Regions from separate parts of the Homo sapiens genome. Here all the other regions are linked to region 2. Evidence: promoter capture Hi-C in 16 types of primary human blood cells and fetal thymus (Javierre and others, 2016). All regions are on one chromosome and are shown on one strand. Each heading gives the region's core, a stretch centred on a gene start or on the middle of the fragment in contact. The rest is flanking DNA. Distances are from core to core; before and after follow the strand shown. Region 1 overlaps GRB10 (growth factor receptor bound protein 10). Region 2 holds the start of IKZF1 (IKAROS family zinc finger 1). Region 3 overlaps GRB10 (growth factor receptor bound protein 10).

Region 1 (4,487 bases), core at 1,988-4,487, 430 kb after region 2:
GAACATGAAAATGAAAGCACACTGATGCAGGGCCAGAATGTGGGCCCATGTGTCTGAGTAACAGGGTTTCCTTAAAAAAAGTGATCTGCTATTCAATGAAAAACTGTAAAGGACTCTAAAAAGTTTATGAAAATCTTACCTTATGGTCAAACTCATTAAAACTAATAAAAACTAATTAAAACTAGACAGATTTAAAAAATTTTATTAAAAAGTAGCTTTAGCATTAAAGATGCACTAATACAAACATGAAATTTGGTTTTCTCTTTTGAAAAAGACGTTTATATAATATTGTGATATATATAAAATGAAAGATTTTTTGTTTGCCTTTTGAGTAAACTACAGGAAAAAAAACAAAACAGAACAAAACAAAAAGCCATCCTAAAATTCATATGGCTTCTCAAGGGACCTGAACAGCCAAAACAATCTTGAAAAAGAACAACACGGAGAACTCACACTTCCCGATTTCAAAACTTACTAACGGCTGGGCATGGTGGCTCACGCCTGTAAACCTAGCACTTTGGAGACCAAGGCGGGCGGATCACTTGAGGTCAAGAGTTCGAGATCAGCCTGGCCAACATGGTGAAACCTCACCTCTACTAAAACTACAAAAATTAGCCAGGTGTGGTGGTATGTGCCTGTAATCCCAGCTACCTGGGAGCCTGAGGCAGGAGAATTGCTTGAACCTGGGAGGTGGAGGTTGCAGTGAGCCGAGATTGCGCCACTGCACTCCAGCCTGGGCAACACAGCCAGACTTCATCTCAAAAAAACAAAAGAAAACAAAATGAACAATAACAAAAAAACTTACTACCAGGCTACAGTAATCAAAACAGTCTGGTACTAACATAAGGACTAACATACACCAATGAAATAAAACAAACAGCCCAGAAATAAATCCTCACATATATGGTCAACTGATTTTCAGTAAGGATGCCAAGACCATTCGCTGAGGAAAAGACAGGCTTTTCAATAAATGAATGGTTCTGGGGGCTGAGTATGGTGGCTCACGCCTGTAATCCCCATACTTTGGGAGGCAGAGACAGGTGGATTGCTTGAGCCCAGAAGTTTGAGAACAGCCTGAACAACATGGTGAAACACCGCCTCTAAAAAAATTAGCCAGGCATGGTCACGTGCACTGTAGTCCCAGCTAATTGGGAGGCTGAGGCAGAAGGATCAAATTAAGCACAGGAATTGAGGATGCAGTGAGCTGTGATTAACGCCACTACACTCCAGCCAGGGCAACAGTGAGACTGTTTCAAAAAAATAAAAATAACCAATTTTTTTTAAACGGTCCTAGGAAAACTGGACATCAGCATGCAACAAAATGAAGCTGGACTCTAAACTTACACCATAAGCAAAAAGCAACTCAAAATGTATGAAAGACCTAAACGTAAGAGCTAAAACTATAAAACTCTTAGAAGTAAAGACAGGGAAAAATCTTCATGACATTAAATATGACAATGATTTCTCAGATATGACACCAAAGGTGCAGGCCGAAGAAAAAATAAACTGGGTTTCACCAAAATTCAAAATGTTTGTGCATCAAAGGATGCTATCAAAAGATTGTAAAGACAACACATAGAATGGGAAAAAATACTTACAAAGCATTTATCTGATAAGGGATTAAAACCCAGAATATATAAATGATATGGTTTGGCTCTGTGTCCCCACCCAAATCTCATGTTGAACTGTAATCCCCAGCGTTGGAGATGGAGCCTGATGGGAGGTGACCGGATCATGGGGGTGGTTTCTAACGGCGTAACACCATCCCCCTAGTGCTATCTCATGATAAAGGTCTCATAGCATCTGGCTGTTTAAAAGTGTGTAGCACCTCCCTCTTCACTCTTTCTCCTGCTCCAGCCACGTAAGATGTGCTTCCTTCCCCTTCACCTTCCTCCATGAGTCTAAGTTCCCTGAGGCCTCCCCAGCCATGCTTCCTGTACAGCCTGCGGAACTGTGAGTCAATTAAACCTCTCTTCTTTATCTCTTCTTTATAAGTTACCTAGTCTCAGGTAGTTCTTTATAGCAATATAACAACAGACTAGGCCGGGCGTGGTGGCTCACACCTGTAATCCCAACACTTCGGGAGGCCGAGGCAGGTGGATCACCTGAGGTCAGGAGTTCAAGACCAGCCTGGCCAACATGGTGAAACCCCATCTCTACTAAATATACAAAAATTAGCCGGGCATGGTGGCAGGCACCTGCAATCCCAGCTACTCAGGAGGCTGAAGCAGGAGAATTGCTTGAACCCAGAGGCAGAGGTTGCAGTGAGCTGAGATCACGCCATTGCACTCCAGCCTGGGCGACAAGAGCAAAACTCTACCTCAAAAACAAACAAACAAACAAAGAAACAAAAAAAACAGACGAATGCAATAAAGAATGCCTACAACTCAACAACAAAAGACATAAGCAACCTCATCTAAAAAGGCACAAAGGGCTTGAATAGACTTTTCTCCAAAGAAGATATACGAATGGCCAAAACGCACATGAAAAGGTCCTCAACATCACTAGTCGTTAGGGAAATGCAAATCAGAACTGCAACAAGATACCACCTGACACTCATTAGGCTGACTGATATAAAAAATAAAACCACAAGTATTGGTGAGGATGTGGAGAAACTGGAACCCCTGAGCATTGCTGGTAGGCATGCAAAATGGTGTTGCTGTGGTTGAAAATAATATGGTGATTCCTCAAAAATATTAAACATAGAATTAACATATGACCCACTTCTAAGCATATAATAGCAACTCCACTTCTAAGCATATAATACAAACTAATCAAAAGCAGAGGCTCAGGTACTTCTATACCCATGTTCATAGCAGCACTATTCACAATAGCCAAAAGGTGGAAGCAACCTAAGTGTCCACTGATGAATTAATGGATAATTCATCAACAGACAAACAAAATGTGGTATATACATACATGGAATGTTAAGGGACACGGTCTCCCTCTGTCACTCAGGCTGGAGAGCAGTGGTGTGATCAAAGCTTGCTGCAGCCTCAAATTCATGGGATCAAGCAATCCTTAGCCTCCCAGGCAGCTGGGACTTATGGGACTAGAGGAGTTCACCACCATGCCCAGATAAAAAGCTCACTTCTGAACATCCTACAGTTATACAACTGGATCATCTACTGTGCTACTTTAAAGAGTTCAGATTCTAAATCATCAGCTGATTTATCAAAATATGTGATTCATATTCACAGATAATGAGGAATAGTTTTATAAGCCAGTAGATAGATAGCAGCTTTCTGTCTATAATAACTAAAGACTTTCTCATTAACCGTTGTCAGATGATTAAGAAATTGTATCAATATCTGTTGTCTTTTTGCTTCCCTTGATTAAAAGGGCCTACTAACAAGTTTGGCTTGCTGTGGTGGTTTCACATTGTTCTTTTAATGTCGAAGGTTAAACCCTCCTTTGCAAGATTATCATTATAAATAATATATTAAAATTTGTTTATTTTAATTAATGAAAATTTAAATAATCTTCATGATAAAGCTTAAACTTCTTTATTGGACTATAGTTCAGAAAAATCGTTCAAGCAGAGTCAAAAGTTTACTCATTCTAAAGTCAACATTTTTCTTAACAATGCCAATATTTACACTTCTGGATCCAGCAGCTGAAGTTGAACGTCTTTGTGTTTCCGATTATATGGGTTGTTTTTTGTTTTTCCATGTTAGGGCAACTTGTACTAGTTAAATTAAAATGATACAACTGTCATAAACTTCAAAAATGTTGCACCCAATAACACTTTTTCTGAAAAGTACATTGGGTGTTCCTAACTGAAACTCTAGAGTCTAGCAGACTGTAGATGATACTCTTAGGCCCTCACCTCGCAGCTAATTGCAAATTATGTTTATGGTGGATTTAAACTGTAGAGCGTTTACCCTCCCTTCTGAAAAGATAGTCAAATAGACATCTTCTAACCCAATGCCAGTAAGCAGATGACCAAATGACACATCCGTGACCAATCCATGCTCACCTTGTCTATCCCGCATGGCATGTGGCTCATCACACATGGCAACGTACTAAGTGCATGCTAAGAACCCATGCAATCCACTCTCATATTTCCTTTTCTGTTCTACTGTATTTATTAAAAACGCTTTTCATGACCTACTAACTTGATTTCAAGACCCGGTAACAGGTTGAAACCTACAGTTTGAAAATAGGGCAGGGCTGTGTTTGGGCTTGTGGTCAACATCGGGGTCACCAACTTCAGTTGGAGGGCCCGCTCCCTCACGTCCCCTCCCATGCCTGCCCCTTCACATCCAAGTGCTGTCCAGGGCACAGAGAGGCTGGCCCACTGGCCTTTCTCTTTCTATTCCCTCTTCACCCCTCAGTCCTCATTTCTCTCCTCCCTGACTCAGGAGAGCCAGAAACATTCCCAGCAAACACCACAGCTCTTATGCCACCTCTTCCTGTGACTCCCGCTCTTTGAAAACACAGCTCATCTGCTTAAAGGAACCTAGCCAGCCCGGAAACTGTGTGAG
Region 2 (4,246 bases), core at 17-2,516:
TCCGCACGCACTTGTGTGTGCACCCAGGCCAACATGGAAGGCGCCATCCTAACTTCTGCCGTGAGCAGGTGGGAGGGAAGAGAGACGAGAGGTATTCCATTGGTTGTCTGGGAAAATGAATTGCACCTTCCCCTCCCTTGCGGAGGATCAACTTTTCCCACCCCCTCGGGTGGGCACTCGCATCCTGGGGCCGGAGCCTGAACCCGGGAGCCAAGGGGCCCCAGTTCCAGGGACGTGAAGCTGAGCGTACAGCGGGCGCTCCCAGACACTGGGGAAAGTGCTTTACGATGTCCCGAGTCCCTCCAGTCTCGCCAGCGGGGCGAGCGTGAGGGTGCCCCGACCGACCAGCGGCCCCGGGTGCAGGGTGGCGGGCCCGGCGGCGCGCGTCCCCCTCCCCCTCCTGGCGGCCCGCACGTGTCGCCCGCGCCGCGCCCCCACGGGTTACGCGCGGGTCCCGCAGCGCCGCGGCCGAGCCGGGCTGCCCGGCCCGCGGACACAGCGCCGGCCGCCGCATCCCGTGCGGGGCCGCGGCGCGATGCTGCGCTGGAATGAGGAAGCGCGGCGGCGAGGGGAGGGCCCGGGCGCGGTGCGCGCGGGGGTGGCGGCGGCGCGCCGAGCGGGCCCGGCGCGGGCGAGCGGGCTGCAGCCGGCGGCGGCGCCAGCAGGTACGGCCCGCACCCGCCGCCGCCCCGGCGGCCTTTGGGGGCTGAGCCGGAGCCCGGCGCGATTGCAAAGTTTTCGTGCGCGGCCCCTCTGGCCCGGAGTTGCGGCTGAGACGCGCGCCGCGCGAGCCGGGGGACTCGGCGACGGGGCGGGGACGGGACGACGCACCCTCTCCGTGTCCCGCTCTGCGCCCTTCTGCGCGCCCCGCTCCCTGTACCGGAGCAGCGATCCGGGAGGCGGCCGAGAGGTGCGCGCGGGGCCGAGCCGGCTGCGGGGCAGGTCGAGCAGGGACCGCCAGCGTGCGTCACCCCAAAGTTTGCGGGGTGGCAGGGCGCGCGCTCTGGCCACCCGCCGCTCTGGGCGGCAGCTGGTGGCAACGCAAGGGCGCGGCGGGGGCGGCCGGCGCGGAGGGGGCCAGGTACGGGGCCCGCGGGCGGCGCTGTGCGCGCGGGGCAGCCGGTCGGCCGGGAGCGCGAAAGCCTGGTCTGAGCCGGCTGGGGGCGGGGAGTGTGGCGGAGAAATGGGGAACAATGCGAGTGAGCAACTTCAGGAAGTCATTGTGAAAGAAAGCTGGGAAGAGCTCCGCGGCCAAGTTAGCAGGACACTCTAACAAGTGACTGCGCGGCCCGCGCCCGGGGCGGTGACTGCGGCAAGCCCCCTGGGTCCCCGCGCGGCGCATCCCAGCCTGGGCGGGACGCTCGGCCGCGGCGAGGCGGGCAAGCCTGGCAGGGCAGAGGGAGCCCCGGCTCCGAGGTTGCTCTTCGCACCCGAGGATCAGTCTTGGCCCCAAAGCGCGACGCACAAATCCACGTGAGTGTTTTCAAATTGAATTTCAATAGGAAAACTTGGGGTAACTGGTGAATTTAAAAAAAAAAAAACACAGTAAAGAAAAGCGGTAAGGTTGGTAGACCCTGGTGTCGCTCAGGTCCGCCTCTCTTTTCTGAGGACAGTGAGAGAGTTCACTTCTGTCAAGCGTCTGTTGCTCTGCACTGTGCCAGCAGGTGCAGGACCAGGCCGACATGGGACACTTCTGAGCAGCCCCGCTGTCACCAGGAGAGGAGTTCTAGCTCCCAACCATATTTAAATTTATGTAGACCTACATATACCCACGGAAGTCAGCCTTTATAAAGTCGTGTGTAAAGAGTTTTCCTTATATTTGAGCCGGGAGCTTTCTTTTTATACTATAAATATGATGAGATCGAGTCTGAACTTAATTTCTGCAAGAGAGGAATTATCCCGGCTTTGAAAAGTTAGTCCTTTTGCTGACCGCAGGTTTGACGCTCAAGTCACCAAACCTTCTCAGGAAAACCCTTAGTAATATTAAGGCATCAGGTTACTTGCGGTTATATTTGAAATGTATTTTAAATATTTGTCAAGCATCGCTGCTGATGCCTAAGGAACCTCGTGAGGGCTTGTTTTTCCTTCTAATTTGGAGGCATCTAATGACCGAAAACCGTAGCGATTCCATAGGGTCTGACCAGGCACAGCTTTCAAATGCAGCTTCCCTCTCTCTAGGGACTGCAGCCCACCCAGACTGAATTTCAATGCGGTGCGCTTTGCTTAGGTTACCCACTCACAATTTCCCACTGCGCCGCAGGCAGTATATTTCAGCTTTGAGATACCTTGTTTTAAAATTCCAGACAAAATGGTGTTGAGGAAATGTCTCCTTACTAGTCCCATCAACTTCTGTTAAAAGAGGAAAATTTATGGAATTTGAAAATACTGCGTATGATATTTAAACTTTCATAGACATTCAAATGCTTTTAAGGCCAGGTTCAATTTGGTTATGAGTCGAGGGGTGGGGGGGACCCACATAGAAATGTCCTGGGTCCTCTTGAGTTTATTTCTTTGTTTGAAGATGTTTGTTCAATGAGTTTTATTGTACTCATCTTTTATATGGAATTTTAAAAAGTAACAATTTCAGTATTATTTATATTAGAATGTGTCAGAATTATTTCCGTGACAAATCAGATCATTTGGGCTATGGCTTAAAATGTACACGAGGCAAATATTCATGACAAGAAGATTCACCTTCTTACGCTGGCATCTTGTAAAATGCAGAACAAGTTAAAGAAATAATGTGTACACATACAAATAATGATGTCACATTAAAAATACTACACTATTCTTGCTTGATGGAATGTATCTGATTTCCAATTTCACCATGAACATATTTCATACATTTTTTACATGAAAAAAAACGTGACTCTTAAGTCTCACAGTCAATCAGAGCTGGTGACCAGAACATTTTATTGAACTAAATGGTCATGTTTTCTTCCCCTTTTGTTTCACGGTGAGAGTTGAAGGAAGGAGTTTAGAAACTCTCCAGTACTTGTTTAATTCATCAGTGTTCTAATTAGAGTGGTACCTCTTGGAAAACTACACACCCCCCTAATGCAGAAACATCATAGCAATAATCACCCACCCTCAGGGTCTCCAGGAGACCACAAGGGCTGCAGATAAAAGTCTGGATGTGTTAGGTTTGACCCTTTCGAAGAGTTTTACACAGGCTCCTAAAGAGAAGATCAGCTGTGGCCGTTTGTAGCCATTTCCTTTGTCGAAAAACTAAGATCGCAGTGAATGTATTAGCCAAGAGGTCTAAAGCCCTGTTGTACTGCAGGCCACTGTCTTCCTTGTTTGACTAGAGACTTGGAGTTTGAGAACAGTGGTTCTTTGGTTTGGATACATTTTTTGTTCTTGATTTGGATGTGTGTGTTTCATGCGTGGTTAATATAGCATATTTTCAATATAAATGTCAAAAATTTTGAAATAGGAAAGAACTCTCTATATATTAATGTACTTATACACACACTTCAAGATTATGCATTTATTAACAGATACATGAAATAAATTCCATGTGCATATGCACATATGCACACAGAGCGTGCACACACACAGCATGCACACAGCGTGGAGTGAGAGGCATGGGGCAGTGTGGAAGAGTTTTAACATCAAACAGACCTGAAATGAGTATTAAAGGCCCCCTTTATTTTTAAACTTTTACTAAAACAAGATGGATTTCCCTATGTTATATAATGGTGAATTTTAGGCATAAATAACGTTTTTTGAGTGTTGCATAATTGTACGTATTAATGTAATGTAACTGTGGTTAACGAAGAATTCATCAAGGATATCACTGTTTTGTGGCATTTTTTTTTTCCTCCTCTAATCTTTGGACTTGTGAAATAATTTCACTATGAAATAAATGTTGGTTCTTGTCATATTCTAAGGGAGATTGATGTAAGTGGCTCCACTCCAGCTTACAGAAGGTAAACCACGACCTTTTTGCGTTCTCTGAAAACGCTTGTCTTCCGATGCCTCTGTTTCTAAGACTGACAAGCACTCTGGGGGCACTGTGACGCCTGCTTCTAGCGGCAGAGTTGCTGCAGCTCCTGTCCTGGCTGTGAACATTGTTCTCTCTCTGGTGTCTCTATGTTCATAACTACAGAGACTTCAGCTCTATTCCATTTCATATTTGTGCTGAATAATCATTCCATTTTATGGGAGAAAACACAAGATGTAAAAGCAACAAGTGACCCATCCTTTGAAGCTTACAAGAAGAGAAACATTAATCTATTTCACG
Region 3 (4,255 bases), core at 252-2,751, 380 kb after region 2:
TTTACATGAAAAGTCTCTAACACATGTGCAAAAGCCAAAGTCCTTACACATTTCTATCTAGAAAAGAAGTGAAGGTCAGGCTGCAAAAGTGTTTTCCACTAGACCATGTTCACTTGGCAAGCAATTTCTGTTAACTTCTAACCAATTAAAACTTTGTGCAAATATAACTTAACCTTCTACTGAAACAGCTTTCTGAACAACAATTTATCTTCTATTCTCATGTATTCTAGTCACATGCACTTAATTTCCCATATATAGAGTTTGGACATAAGTAAGTAGAATAAGAAAACCAGGTATTATATGGTTAGAGTATTCTTCTCTATCATATTTATGGTATTTAAAGATATTCAGCAAACACAAAAGCAAACCACCTAACCACAACTCCAAATAAAAATACAAATGGAATCAATGCTTTATTTCACGGGTTCCTACACACAGGCAGGATTTGAGGCAGAAAATAAAATCCCTAGAATTAGTCTGTCCAGCAAATGCATATAAATATCCTTGTACCTAGAAAGAGCTACACAGTCATAACTCTTGGCTTTCAGTGTTTATAAGAGAAACTTCCTTCTCCCAACCTTTGTTGAAAATGGCATCCTCTCCTCTCTACCCAGCTCACAAAAGACAAGGGGAACCACCATTTTCAGTCTCTAGTAATTGAGAAAACACATATCAACAAACTGATGAATTTAACAATTTGTAAGAATATACGTTTTTTGGTTTTTCATTATGTACAGACACATCTGCAAAAGAGTCGTGGCCTATGCTAATGGGCAGTGGCAGGGCTCCAATCAGTGCTGGTGCCTATGGAGACTCAGAAGTCTCCACTCCGACTCCCAGGACCCACAGGCCACATGGGCAGAATCGCCATCCAAAGCATATTCAAAGTTTGTGATGACATAAAATGGGACAAAAATAAACATATATCCTGGGCATAACATAGTTAGACAAAGCTAAAATCACAAGGATCCTCTCAGTCTGCTGAGGCTACACTCACTTGTTCCTGATTACTATTTACAGGTGGTTTCTTAATTATTTTTCTTAGAATGTTTTTTTTCTTCTCCTAAGACAAATGCAGGCTAGTGTATCCAGGAAGGCTGCATGCATATTTAATCCTATATCCAATTCCCTGAGGGCAGGGGCATTGTCTTCTGCTACCTTGAAACTCCATCCAGACCCTCCTCCAAGAAGATCCCAATATGACTTACAGATCCAGGGCCCTACTCAACAATTCTACAGATAACACAAAATATGGAGACTACTGATTCTCTGCTTTCATAAAATCTGTCCTCTGCTCTCCTTAAAGCTACATTTAAATATACACATTCTTTCTAAATAAAGCACTACCCCGCCCTTTGAGTGTTTAAGTATCTATGGCTGCTATTTAGATTCAAAGCAACTAAGAAGCGACTGAGAGCCAAATCTCAGTCTACAACCACGAAGATGAGGCACAGAGCAGGCACAGCTCATGAGCTGCCTGGCAGGGTGCAGAAGGCTGGGAGACAAGAAGGGGAGCCCCTCCACGGAGAAGCCTCCGGCTCTACCCCAAAGACTACCATCGGATATGCAGACAGCCCTGAGCTGCATCCCTGGCCCTTTTGGACTTTAGGCAAGCTGCTCCAGTCTTCCGGCCTCCTCTTAGTCCCAACTCGAGGGGCGATGGTGTTTATGGCTCCCAGGATGCCGCCCGACCTTAAGGCTCTCCAGACCCTTTCTTCTTTGTTTCCTTGAAAATGTGACTGTTAACAGTGGATAGAGAAAAACCTGTATTTTACAAATGAGCTGCTAAAATCATATCTCCCTTGTGGAAGGAGAGAGGATTCTTACAACGCAACAACCAGGAAATGATTCTGTTGCCAGAATAATCTGGTTTATGAGCCTCTTTCCTCTGTGTGCACACGGAGCCTGCCATGAAGCACTGAAAAGACTGCCTGGGCATCTGAGTGTATTTGAGTTTATGGGGCTCCTTCAAAATGCAAAAGTAAACATTTGACATGCTTTCTTCAAGTTTCCATTTGCATTTTTCACGTTTCACGGGGGCTGCACCCTTGCCTTCCATGTGAGGTGTAACTTCCCCTTTTAAGTCATTTTGCCCTAGCCTTCCTGCTTCTGCGCCTGGTAGGAGTTTAATTTCACCAGCCAGGGCTGCCAACCTAATAGAATTTCTGACTCTGGGTGTGTCAGTGCTGAGCAGAGGAGTCTCTGAGCCCCGGGTTGATGAATCCTGAGTGTGTCAGGTGATCCTTAGAAGAAACAGAGCAGGAGATGGTAGGGGGCTTTGCTTTCCTTGGCTGGAGGCAGCCCTGCTACCCACTCAACCCAATGTTTCTGTTGCCCCCCAGCACTGGCCACCTTGGGAACCAAGATATTGGGAAGGGACCTGAAGGGCATAAGGGAATCCAGAGACTCTTGAGAAGGGATCGTAGCTCACCTCAGAACGCCTGGAGCAGTTGGCTAAACACAGCAATTTTAGGAGCCCCTGACCCCTTTGTCCAGAGTGTGGTGAGTCACTCCAGTGAGGAAGAGAGTTTGGCAGGTGGCAGCCTGCCTTGGCATCTGTTTGGGTAGATTGCTAGGCTCTGCTCATTTTGGCCTACACCTCTGCTGACGTTTTCCCCAGGCTCTGGGATTTAGGTGGGAAAAGTCATTAACGTGCCCTCAGGCAGGGTCAGAGCCATGATATCTGCTATTTGGTGTTTTTGGGTAAGTGTGTGAAAAGGATTGGTAACCGTATTTGAAAATCAATGATCATGTCGGCTCAACATCACCCGAACAAAGGGATGACCCTCATTTTTGCTTTTTATCTTTCAGGCCTTTAGTATTTCCAGTTAAGTATTTGACAAGTTAAAAACCAATATATATACTACTTTGTTTCTGTACTTTTTGGCTTGTCACTTTATAGCAGTGGTTTGAAAAGTTTTAAATCAGAAATGAGTATTTACACTTTGGAAAATATATTTGAATCAGAGAGGAAAGGTGGCCTAAGGAATGAGATTTCATGACAGAAAATGGTTTTTATTAATTAGTAACTGTCAGCATATATTTTCTGGTCCAATTCAAAGGGGAGGGAAACATAAATCTGTTAAATCTCAACGCTCACACTGAAATGTTGCAATGGGGAAATTTGGGCTTATTCATATTCAATAATTAAATATCTTCAAAGCTTAGAAGAAATACAAATTTGTTTTTCTTTCTTTGTTCTATTTTTAAAAAGTAAAAGCAGGTATATACCCCCCAAAATTGAAAGTAGGGACTTCAACAGATAATCGTACACCCTTGTTCACAACAGCACTATTCACAACCCAAAGGCGGAAACAGCACAAGTGCCCCTCAACAGATGAACAGATGAAGAAAATGTGGCACATATACACACAATGGAATATTATTCAGCCACAAAAAAGGAAGGTGCCTCTGAAACGCACTAGAACTCAGAAGAACCTTGAGGACATAATAAGCCAGTCACAAAAGGATAAACACTATCTGATTCTGCTCATGGGGTCCCTGGAGTAGTCAAATTCCTAGAGATAGTGGAATGGTGGTGGCCAGGGGCTAGGGAAGGAAATGGGGTGTTATTTATTTGATGGGTACAGAGTTTCATTTTTGCCAGATGAATAGAGTTCTATGGATGGATGGTGGTGAAGGTTGTGCAACCATGTGAACGTTCTTAATGCCATTGAAATGTGCATTTAAAAATGGTAAGGATGGGCTGGGAGCAGTGGCTCACGCCTGTAATCCCAGCACTTTGGGAGGCCGTGGCGGGTGGATCACCTGAGGTCAGGAGTTCGAGACCAGCCTGATCAACATGGCGAAACCCTGTCTCTATTAAAAATACAAAAATTAGCCAGGTGTGGTGGTGTGCACCTGTAATCCCAGCTATTCAAGAGCCTGAGGCAGGAGAATCGCTTGAACCCGGGAGGTGGACATTGCAGTGAGCTGAGATCATGCCACTGCATTCCAGCCTGGGTGACAGAGCGAGACTCCATCTCAAAAAAAATAAATAAAAAACAAAAAATAAAAAATAATGGTAAGGGTGGTAAATTGTGTTAGGTATATTTTACCACAATTAAAAATAATAATTAAAAAACAAACGCAGTTTTTAAATTGAATTGTTCCCAGGTTACCCTCCAGGTGATGCCAAGCAGATTGGCTTGTTAAAGGACCAGGACAAGGCTAGTCATTTCCTAAGTTACACTAAACATAGATTCCTCTTCCTAGAAAAATAAGAATTTTCAGTATAAATGTGTATGCTTCCCCA

Evidence for each region. Contacts are between HindIII fragments. The CHiCAGO score rates a contact against its expected background, and 5 or more counts as called.
Region 1: a fragment that was not itself captured here is called in contact with the fragment with the promoter of IKZF1 in region 2 in 5 of 17 cell types (naive CD8 T cells, fetal thymus, total CD4 T cells and 2 more); the score reaches 7.8 in naive CD8 T cells.
Region 3: a contact is called between a fragment that was not itself captured here and the fragment with the promoter of IKZF1 in region 2, in 7 of 17 cell types (fetal thymus, M2 macrophages, total B cells and 4 more). The highest score is 8.4, in fetal thymus.

The regions. Positions count from the first base shown.
Region 1 is chr7:50,735,526-50,740,012 of GRCh38, forward strand. All of the region lies in intron 3 of GRB10 (growth factor receptor bound protein 10), which reads right to left. Among named protein-coding and RNA genes, the nearest start is that of GRB10, 45 kb to the right of the region's middle. The HindIII fragment of the contact is 511 bases long and covers 2,983-3,493 here.
Region 2 is chr7:50,303,450-50,307,695 of GRCh38, forward strand. IKZF1 (IKAROS family zinc finger 1) reads left to right here and starts at 1,267. Exons shown (of 8, transcript NM_006060.6): 1 at 1,267-1,473. RefSeq lists a silencer at 580-1,379. The HindIII fragment of the contact is 6,071 bases long and covers 1-4,211 here.
Region 3 is chr7:50,679,751-50,684,005 of GRCh38, forward strand. All of the region lies in intron 5 of GRB10 (growth factor receptor bound protein 10), which reads right to left. Among named protein-coding and RNA genes, the nearest start is that of GRB10, 100 kb to the right of the region's middle. The HindIII fragment of the contact is 3,319 bases long and covers 1-3,161 here.